Regions from separate parts of the Homo sapiens genome. Here region 2 is linked to region 1. The links are contacts of gene promoters, found by promoter capture Hi-C in blood cells and fetal thymus (Javierre and others, 2016). All regions are on one chromosome and are shown on one strand. The core of a region is centred on a gene start or on the middle of the fragment in contact, and the rest is flanking DNA. Distances in the headings are between cores, read along the strand shown.

The links. Contacts are between HindIII fragments. The CHiCAGO score rates a contact against its expected background, and 5 or more counts as called.
Region 2: a contact is called between a fragment that was not itself captured here and the fragment with the promoter of TSNARE1 in region 1, in 1 of 17 cell types (endothelial precursors). The highest score is 6.3, in endothelial precursors.

The regions. Positions count from the first base shown.
Region 1 is chr8:142,400,391-142,404,870 of GRCh38, reverse strand. TSNARE1 (t-SNARE domain containing 1) reads left to right here and starts at 1,689. Exons shown (of 14, transcript NM_145003.5): 1 at 1,689-1,767. RefSeq lists silencers at 791-840, 1,281-1,850, 1,991-2,130 and an enhancer at 784-1,559. The HindIII fragment of the contact is 6,879 bases long and covers 1-4,435 here.
Region 2 is chr8:141,501,446-141,506,428 of GRCh38, reverse strand. It overlaps MROH5. Among named protein-coding and RNA genes, the nearest start is that of C8orf90, 11 kb to the left of the region's middle. The HindIII fragment of the contact is 5,426 bases long and covers 1-4,979 here.

The sequences.
Region 1 (4,480 bases), core at 440-2,939:
TCAGAGGAGGCTGAGTGAGGTGGCGGCCAGACAGACAGCGCCAGCCACGGAAGGGGAGGTGGGCACCGTGCCAGGCACCCGGCATCCTCAGTCCAGACTGACAGCTCTCAGACAGGCATTGGTCCTGGCGAACCTTCCCCTTCAAGTGGAAGCTGGGGGGTCAGCAGTCATGGGCATCCTCCCTGGTTAGGAGCCGGCTTCCCTGCACTCTAGCTGTCCTAGCCGAAGAGTGAAGCCCTGTCCAAATCATGGCGAGGCTGCAAGACAGGCACACACTACTGCCTCCTGGGAGCCCAGGGGAGACTGAAATACACCAAGGCAAGGAGCGTGGGTGGGCCCAGGACAGGCCGGCCTGAGCACCAGCCCAGGAATGCTGGTGGGCATGTGCCCCTCTTCCCTCCCACCCATGTGTGCACACATTTGTGCCATATACTACCGTTCCCATGTTTGCGCCTGGGCACACACTTGTGCCAGCATACACACACTTGTGCACTTGCACCTGGTGTCCAGGAACACTCCCTCAGCTCACAGACGTGCGCTGTGTGCACACAGTACCACGCAGTGTCCACGAGCACACTTTTGTGTTCGTGTTCACAGAACCCGTGTGCGCACACATGCACAGTCCTGGGCTGCAGAGAACCCCAGCCAGCGGGGCGGTGGGGGAAGGGGAGGGCACGCCTCCTTCCCAGGAGCTCAGCAAGGCTGTCCGCGGGAGCCCAGGGCTGCCCGCAGGGCTTTGGCGTAGGCCTCGCAAGCACAGCAAGCATCACAGAGTGAGGGCGGCGGGAGAACCTCCGCTTGCCGGAGAAGGTGCAGCGGACTCATCACTCTTGCTCTCCTGCCTTGGGTGTGACTCTTGGTTCACCTCTGGGGAAACAGGCTGAAAGGTGACCCTGGCGGCCCAAGGACACACACCCATTGTCCGCAGGTTCCTCCCAGGTGTCTTCTCCAGCAGGTCACCGGGAGAGCGAGGGGCTGGAGTCTTTCGGGAGCTCAGTGCCCGCAGGCAGAGCAGGGAAAGGGAGGCGCCCCAGGCCCCTGCGGAAGGAGGTCCCAGGAGGGTCTCCGCAAGGGGCTCCCTACTCTGCACTTCAGCTCCTCCAGGGAGGGGCTGCGACCTCGGGCAAAGGTCCCTCAGATGTCTTGAGACTCAGTTTCCTCGTTGGTGACACTGGGAGTCCGGAGTCCCCGCGGGGCCTGCCAGCCCCCGGCCGAGCACGGCCCCACGCGGAGCCCGTGCAGCCTGACTTGGGGCCCAACGCCCGTCCCCGCAGCGCGAGACGCGCAGGTGCCCGGCCCTGCCCTGGCCGAGACCCGCCGCCTGCGCAGCCCCGCAGAAGCTCCAGCTTTGGCCCGTGTGAGGTCCGGGCTCGGCCTGGGCTGGGCGGAGCCCGCTCCCGAAGCGCCTCAGCGCCGGGCCGCCGCCCTCCACGTGACCTCCACCTTCGCCGTCATCCCCATATGCAAAACGGGGAAACGGGGAAACGGAGGCCCACCACCAGGCAAGTGAGGACAGCCGACTCGCGCGCGCACCCGCAGAGGCCTCTTGGCCCAGCCGACCGCCGTCCGCGCCGCTTCCGGCTCCGCGCCGGGGCCTCTGGGGCGGGTAGTCCCCGCGCGCGTCCGGGACCGGCGGCCATTGGCTGGTGCGGGAGGGGGCGCGCACGCCGGCGGCGGGAGGGGCCGTCACGTGATGTTTGGGTGCCCGCCCCGCCCGCCTCGCCCGCCGTGAGCGCCCGGAGCGGTCCGCGAGCCACCGAGGCCCAGGTGAGGCGGCGGCGGTGGGGCTGGGGCCTGGCCGGGGCCGGGCGTGGGGCGGCGAGGGCGAGGCGGCCGGGGACCAGCGCGGGGCCCGGAGCCCGGCGGGGGCCGCGGCGTGGCGTGGTATGGGGCTTGCGGGAGGCCGGGCGGGGGGCGGGGCCGCGCCGGTGGGGAGGGGAGGGGGCGGGACCGTGCCGGGGGTGGACCCCAGGGGCGCCAGGGACCCTGAGCCGCAGCCCCGCGAGAGCGCCGCATTTCGGGGACCGGCCCGCGGGCACATGAGCCCCTCGGCGGGTCCTCGCGCGCTGTTCAGACCCCAGGTCGGTGGGCTCTGGGCCGGGCAGCCGGTGCCTGCGCCTGGAGGTCAGTGCCGTCCCGGGGAGCGCCCCAGCGCCTACTTGCTGGGTGCAAGGGTTGGTGCCCTGCAGCTCAACGAGCGGAGCCCGCCTTCGAGCCTGAGCTGGGGACCCCGTTCCTGTGTGCTTGCCTCTCCATGCCTTTCTGTCCCTTCTCCAAGTTGTAAGAAGGTGCTTCCTGGGTACTGGGGCCTGCGACATCCCCACCAGGGACTTTCAGGTGATGTTGATCTGTGCTGCCCCCGCAGAAACTCTCCAGGGACCTCGTGTTTGTTGCCTCATGGCGCACTCCTCCTGCTCTGGAAGCTCTGCCATGTCCAGTGTGGTAGCCCCTAGGCATGTGTGGCTGTTTACATTGTCCTTAACGTGAAGGATTCAGGTCCTCCGTGCCAGTGGTCACATGTCCGACACTCAGTAGCCACACGTGTCTGGTGGCGGCTGTGTGGGGCAGCGCGGGTAGGGAACACTGCTTATCACAGGAAGTTCTGTGAGCGGTGTGGTGCGGCTCAAAATGGGCCTCGCGCGTGCTGCTCCGCCGGTGCTTCTCCGCCCCTCATCCTGCCAGGTGCCTTTCCAGCCACACCTGGCGCCCTTTCTTTCCTCTGCTGCACACTTGCCTCTTCTTTTAGTTCCTGGCTCGCTCCTGGCTTGGGGGCAGCTCCGCTTCCGGTATGTCTGAGCTCACCTTTCTGACCGCTCTCCCTACAGTATTTCTTGTTTGTCATTGTCACTCATCTGCTTGTTTTCTGTTTTATCTTTAGTGCCTGTGAGACAGGGGTGGGGATTGTTGCTTAGGATACTCCCAGTGTGGACACAGTATTGAGTTGAAAGAAAGCTGAAGTTTGTTAGTACTGGAGTGCTTCCCCCGACTGAACCGCTGCTTTCATACCGTTCGACCCCATACATCACAGGACCGCAGCAGAAATCTGGTAGAACAAATGTTTGGACACAGCAGCACAGGCCGTGAATGCAGGTGGCTGTGGGAGGCTGGCAAATCCAAGACGACTTCCTGGAGGAGGTTGAGTTTTGGCTGGGTCACCTCTGTTTCTCTCCTCCTCTGCTGGCCTGGCCCCATGAACATCTGGCAGCCTCTGGCTGCTCTGACTCTATCCAGGAACCTTCCCTGGACACTTCCCCTGAGTCTGGCCTTCTGTAGATGCTGGGTCAAGAGCCTAGACCTAGGCACTCAGTCTAGGGGCTCATGGGCAGCCAGGTGTCCCTAAGTCTCTTCCACAGCTCCTCATGGCCTGCAGAGCGAGGTCCTGGGTTTGGCTCCTGCCAGCAGCTCCTGCCACATCTTCAGTCCCTGCTTTATGTCCCTGACAGTGCAGTCATTTTTCCTGCATAGTCTGTGGCTTTTCTCACTGGTGTGCCTGTCGATGCAGAGCCTTCTGCTTGGAATGCCCTGGCACTCCCGTGTTTGTCTCTCCTGTGTGCCTGGGAGCCTCTGTGGCATAGACCTCTGCTGTGTCACCCTTGTGTCCTGAGCACCCCACCCAGCACCGAGAGTAGGATAAGCACCTAGCAGGTTTTGATGAATAAATACACTGGACACGTAAGACTTTGAGGAGAATGTGGTGAGAAGTACAGCTAGGTCACGATGCTGGAGCTTGAGATGGAATCAGGGAGTCACCTTCCAGGTGGGCGGAGTTGGGGAGTCACCTTCCAGGTGGGGAGGAAAGACAAACATGCCTCGACCATGGCTGTACCAAGCCATTCGCGACACGGCGTGGGTGCATCCTTCCACGGTCCTGAAAAGGGGTGGTGAGTGTCTGCAGGTGGTGACACTAATGATACTGGTCACAGCACCTCCTGGTGCCAGGTGACCAGGGAACTGTGTTCATTACTCAGTTTACTCTCACAGTCACCCTGGGAGGAGGGTCTGTTGTCCCCATTTCCCAGATGGAGAGACTGAGACACAGAATGGTGATCTTGCCGTGAGTCCCTCAACTGTCGGGTTCTAGGACGTCATTTGTTCAGCCCAGACAGACACATTTCTTCCGAGGTTGTTGGGCGTTTTATCCCTCTGAGTGGTGTTTGGCCATAAGAACAGTTGGCTAGGGGTTAGGCTGTCTTCTTCTTATTTTTATTTTTTGACACGGAGTCCTGCCTCAGCCTCCCAAGTAGCTGGGACTACAGGTGCCTGCCACCACACCTGGCTAATTTTTTGTATTTTTAGTAGAGACGGGGTTTCATCATGTTGGCCAGGATGGTCTTGATTTCTTGACCTTGTGATCCACCCACCTCGGCCTCCCAAAGTGCTGGGATTACAGGCATGAGCCACCGTGCCCGGCCCTTTTAATTTTTTTTGAGAAGCTTCCCTCTTGTTGCCCAGGCTGGAGGGCGTTGGTGCAATCTTGGTT
Region 2 (4,983 bases), core at 1,017-3,516, 900 kb after region 1:
AGCAGGATTCCCTGTTGCAATCCACGCTGCCTACGGTGGCTGTTCCAGGAATGTCTTGGTACCTGCCTGTGAACTCAGGTATTTCCGGCTCTCGCAGTCCACGTTTGAATGTTGTCAGGCCTCCCTTCTCTGCCATAGCTTCTGTTGCTGCTAAGCCAAGAGTACTCCTCTGCAGATGTTTGCTAATAGTGTGTTCACATCGTTTTTCTATTTTTAAAAATGCATTTAACTCTGGAAGCCACAGGGGCTGTGATGTGGGTTTGGAGGGGCAAGGTACAGGCCTCGCTGGTGCCTGCGGCCCATGCTGTTACCACTGCTGTGCCTGGGGGAAGCCGGGCTCTAGCTCCAACGGGATCCTCACTCCCACTCCCAGAGTGGGCCCCAGCCAGGTTTGTCTGGAAGGTCACCCTTTCCAGGATCAGGGAACTGGCTAGTTTTCTGAGAGGCCACAGGAAGGAGGCGGCTTCCAGAAGGGGTAAACTGTGTCTTGACCTCTCAAGGTCAAGAGAGCAGGGTCTGAGGGCCTCCCCAGAGCTGCCCTGGCCCTGAGATGCCAGGAGATGTCAGAACACGTGATATCTAGGACGGAGGCTCTAGAGCTCTTCAGACAGCAAAGCTCAGATGTGCAGAAATGCAGCTTCTCAGGCAACTCCAACCCTCTGCTGCAGTTATGGGATGGAGAAGCCTGGTGGGTATCCTCCTACAGCCCTGGCAAAGGGACAGAAAGAAAGGAGGAGAAGGAGACATGCTCTGGGCAGAGGGGCCAGGGAAGCAGAGCCTCACAGGGTCCACCAGAAGGCATTTGGGAAGCTGGATCTGGTGTGATGATTACAGGGGACAGACTGGATCCTGGAGAGGTGGGAGGGCTGTCACAATGCCATGTCCAAGGTCAGGACAGGGCCGGTGGTGGCTCTGGATACATCACCTGCTATGAAGCTCTCCATTCATTCTGCCAGTATTTGCTGAGCACCTGCTACGTGGACCAGGTGTTCTAGGTGTCGGGGATACTGCTGGGAACAAAAGAGATAAAGACCCTGCCCTCATGCCTTACATTCCAGGTAGGGAGACCTGCCAGTGAGACCAGAAGCAGGAAAGTAAAGGATATGATGTTACAGGGCAAAAAGTGACACGGAAAAAAGAGAGGGTGGGGAGGGGGAAGTGTGGGGTGAGGATTTAAATCAGTTCTTCAAGAAGGTGACAACTGAGCAAAGACTAAAATCAGGTGAGGGACTGAGCCAGGCAGCCATCTGAAGGAACGGCATTCCCCAGACGGAAGGAGTGGCCACACAAAGGTCCAGAAGTAGATGTGCACCCGGTGGTGGGAGCACCCCACCACTGGAGTGGAATAAGCAAGGGAGAGCAGAAGGAAATAAGGGCAGAGAGACCATTTTTGTTCTTATGTGTCTTTTTTCTTTTCGATTACAGTATGATTTACAGATGACAAAATTCACTATTTTTAGTGTATAGCTTTCAAATTTTGACAAATGTATATAGTCATGGACTCACCATCACAAACAAAATATGGCGGTGGGTACAGGATGCCCAGACAACTCCATCTCCCAGACACTCCCTCCCATCCCTTTGTAGTGAACTCTCTCCAACTCCCAGTCCCAGGGAACCACTGACCTGCTCTCTGTCTGTAGTTTCACCTTTTTCAGAATGTCATAAAAATGAAATGACACCAAATGTAGCTTTTGGAATCTGGTTTCCCTCCTGGAGCATCCATGTTTTTGTGTTTATCAGTGATTCACCTCTTTTGTTGCTGAGTAGCATTACTGTGAGTGTGACATGGTTTGTTTATACATTCCCAGGGTGAGGGACATTTGGATTATTTCCATGTGGAGATAGCATAAATAAAGTCAGTATAAATGTTTGTGTATATATTTTAGTCAGTAGTCATTTCACTTGAGTGAATGCCTAGGAGCGGGTAGCTGAGCCATTTGGTAAGTGTACATTAGACTTTATTAGCAAATACCAGGCTATCTTCCAAGAGGGCTGTGCCACTGTGCATTCCCACCAGCAATGTATGGAAGCTCAGAGCTATTCTGCAACCTCACCAGCACTTGGTATTTCCAGTGTCTCTGATTTTAGCTATTTCAGTAGATGTGTAGTGATAGCCCACTGTGGTGTTAGTTGGTTTCCCTCGTGAGAAATGTTGAGTGCTTTTCAGGTGCTTCTTTGCCATCTGTCTGCCTCCTCTGATGCCTTGTCCCAGTCTCCTGCCTGTGTTTCCTTAGGCCGCTTGCGCTTTGCTTTGTTTTGTTTTGAGAGTTCTTTCTATATTCTGGAGATAGTCCTTTATCAGATATGTGATTTGCAAATACTGCCTCCAAGTCTGCAGCTTATCATTTTTTAATGCATATCCCTTAATCTAAATAAAAGAGAGGGGGACCAGGTGCAGTGGCTCATGCCTGTAATCCCAGCACTTTGGCAGGTGGAAGCAGGAGGATCATTTGAGCCCAGGAGTTCAAGACCAGCCTGAGCAATATAGAGACAACCTGCCTCTATAATAAAAAAAAAAAAAATAGGCAGACATGGTGGCATGCATCTGTAGTCCTAGCTACTTGGGAGGCTGAGGCAGGATGATCTCTTGAGCCCAGGAGTTTGAGGCTACAGTGAGTGAGCTATGATTGTGCCACTGCACTCCAGCCTAGGCAACAGATCAAGTCTCTCTCTAGAAAACAAAAATAAAATAAAGACAGAGGGGATCTCTAAAAGAAAATGATATTTATTCAGGAATGGGCATTGCAATAGTAATACGTGTGCCATAGTAAACCACATGCCTATTCAAGGCTGGGGCAAGGGTAAGTTTTTAAAGGCAAAATTAAAATGATTGATTATATAAGTTGTTCTGAAATAATAATTCTTGGCTACAAGGGTCAATAACAAGGCTGGGGTGAGTCCTAGGTTGGAAAGACAGTTTTCTGGGTAGATGACCTCACAGAAGTATTTGTGTGTGTGTGTGTAAGGTTGCAATTGGCCTTTGTGCAAGGTTGTGGGTTTTGCAGAGTCTTTTGTGATCGTTCTTGCAGTCAGGCATTTGTGCATGAGAACCATTCCTTTAAGGCTTCCTCCAGCCCCATTTATCAGAGTTTTAACACAGTGACTCCATTTTGATTCCAACATGTTTCACGTATCTTTCAAAAAGCAGAAGTTTTTAATTTTTATGAAATCAAATTTATCATTTCTTCTTTTATATAGTGCTTTTGGTGTCACATCTAAGAAATCTTTGTCTAACCCAAGATCATAAAGATTTCCTCCTATATTTTCTTCTGAAAGTTTTAGAAGTTTAGGTCTTACTTTTGGGTCTATGATCTTTTTGAGTAAATTTTTCATATGGTGTGAGGTATGGATTAGGGGTTATTTTTTGCATGTGTCTGTTCAATTATTGCAGCAACATCTGTTAATGCTTTTTTAATAGAGTTGCTCTTGCACACTTATCAAAAATCAGTTGAAGCCAGGCACAGTGGCATGCATCTATAGTCCCAACTACTCAAGAGGCTGAGGCAGGAGAATTGCTTTAGCCCAGAAGTTTGAGACTGCAGTGAGCTATGACCACACCACTGTACTCCAGCCTGAGCAACAGAGTGAGACCCTATCTCTAAACAAAACAAAACAAAAATAATCAATTGACCTTATATGTGTGGGCCTTTTTCCGGAATCCATGTTCTGTTACACATATTTATATTTATGTGCTTTTATCAATATTACATTGCCTTGATTACTATAGCTTGACAATAAGTCTTGACATTGGTAATGGTCCTCCAATTTTGTTCTTCTACAAAATCTTTTTGACTATCCTAGTTTCTTTACCTTTCCATATAAATTTTAGAAACAGCTTGTTGGTTACTACCAAAAAAAATTCTTGCTGGGGTTTTTATTGAAATTGCATTGAATATTTAGAAAAAGTTAGAGAAAATTAATATCTGAACAATATTGAGTCTTCCAATCCATGAACATGGTGTATCTATCTATTTTCTTGATTTATTTCATCAATATTTTGTAGTTTACAGTATACAGACCTTGCAATTATTGGTTAGGTTTATGCCTAAATAACTCATGATTTTTGGTGCTAGTGTACATGGTACCTTTTTTATTTCAATTCCCAATTGTTCATTGCCAGTATGTATAAATATGAATAATTTTTGTTTATTGACCTTACAATTTGCAAATTTGCTGAACTTATTTTTTAGTTCTAGTAGGCTTTTCTGTAGATTTGGAATTTCCCACTTGTATAATAATGCCTTCTACAAATAAAAATAGTTTGTTTCTTCTTTCCCAGGCTGTATGACTTTTATTCCTTTTTGTTGACTTCTTACATTGATTAAGTCCATAGTCTAATGTTGAATGAGAGAGGTAAGAGCAGACTTCTTGCCTCATTCCCAGTCATGTGGAAAAATATTCAGCCTTCCACCATAAAGTGTGATGTTAGCTGTAGGATTTTTATAGATACTCTTTATCAGGTTGAGGAATTTTTCTTAATTCCTATGTTTATTTTTGAATAGATGTTGGGTTTTACCAAATGTTTCTCTGCATCTATTGAGATCATTGTATTTTCTTTCCTTAGTCAATCTAGTGAATTACATTGACTGATTTTTCAAATATTCAATTAGCCTGGTATTCCCAGGATAAGCCCCGCTAGGAGATGATGGATAAGCATTTCTGTATACTTTAAATTGTTTTATTAAGAAAGTTTGTGTCTGTTCATGGAAGATATTAGGCTGTAGTTTTCTTTATTTCCAATATCTTTATCTGGTTTTGGTGTCAGGTTTTGCCTCATGGAAGGGTTGGGAAGTGTTCCCTCCTCTTCAATTTTCTGGAAGAGTTTGTAGTATTGGTATTATTTCTTCCTTAAACACTTGATAGAATTCAAGAATGAAGCCAACTCAGCCTAAAATTTTCTTTATGGGAAAGTTTTCAACTACACATTCGATTTTCATAATTTGGGTTATTCTTGTTATTTCATTCTTGAGTAAGCTTTGG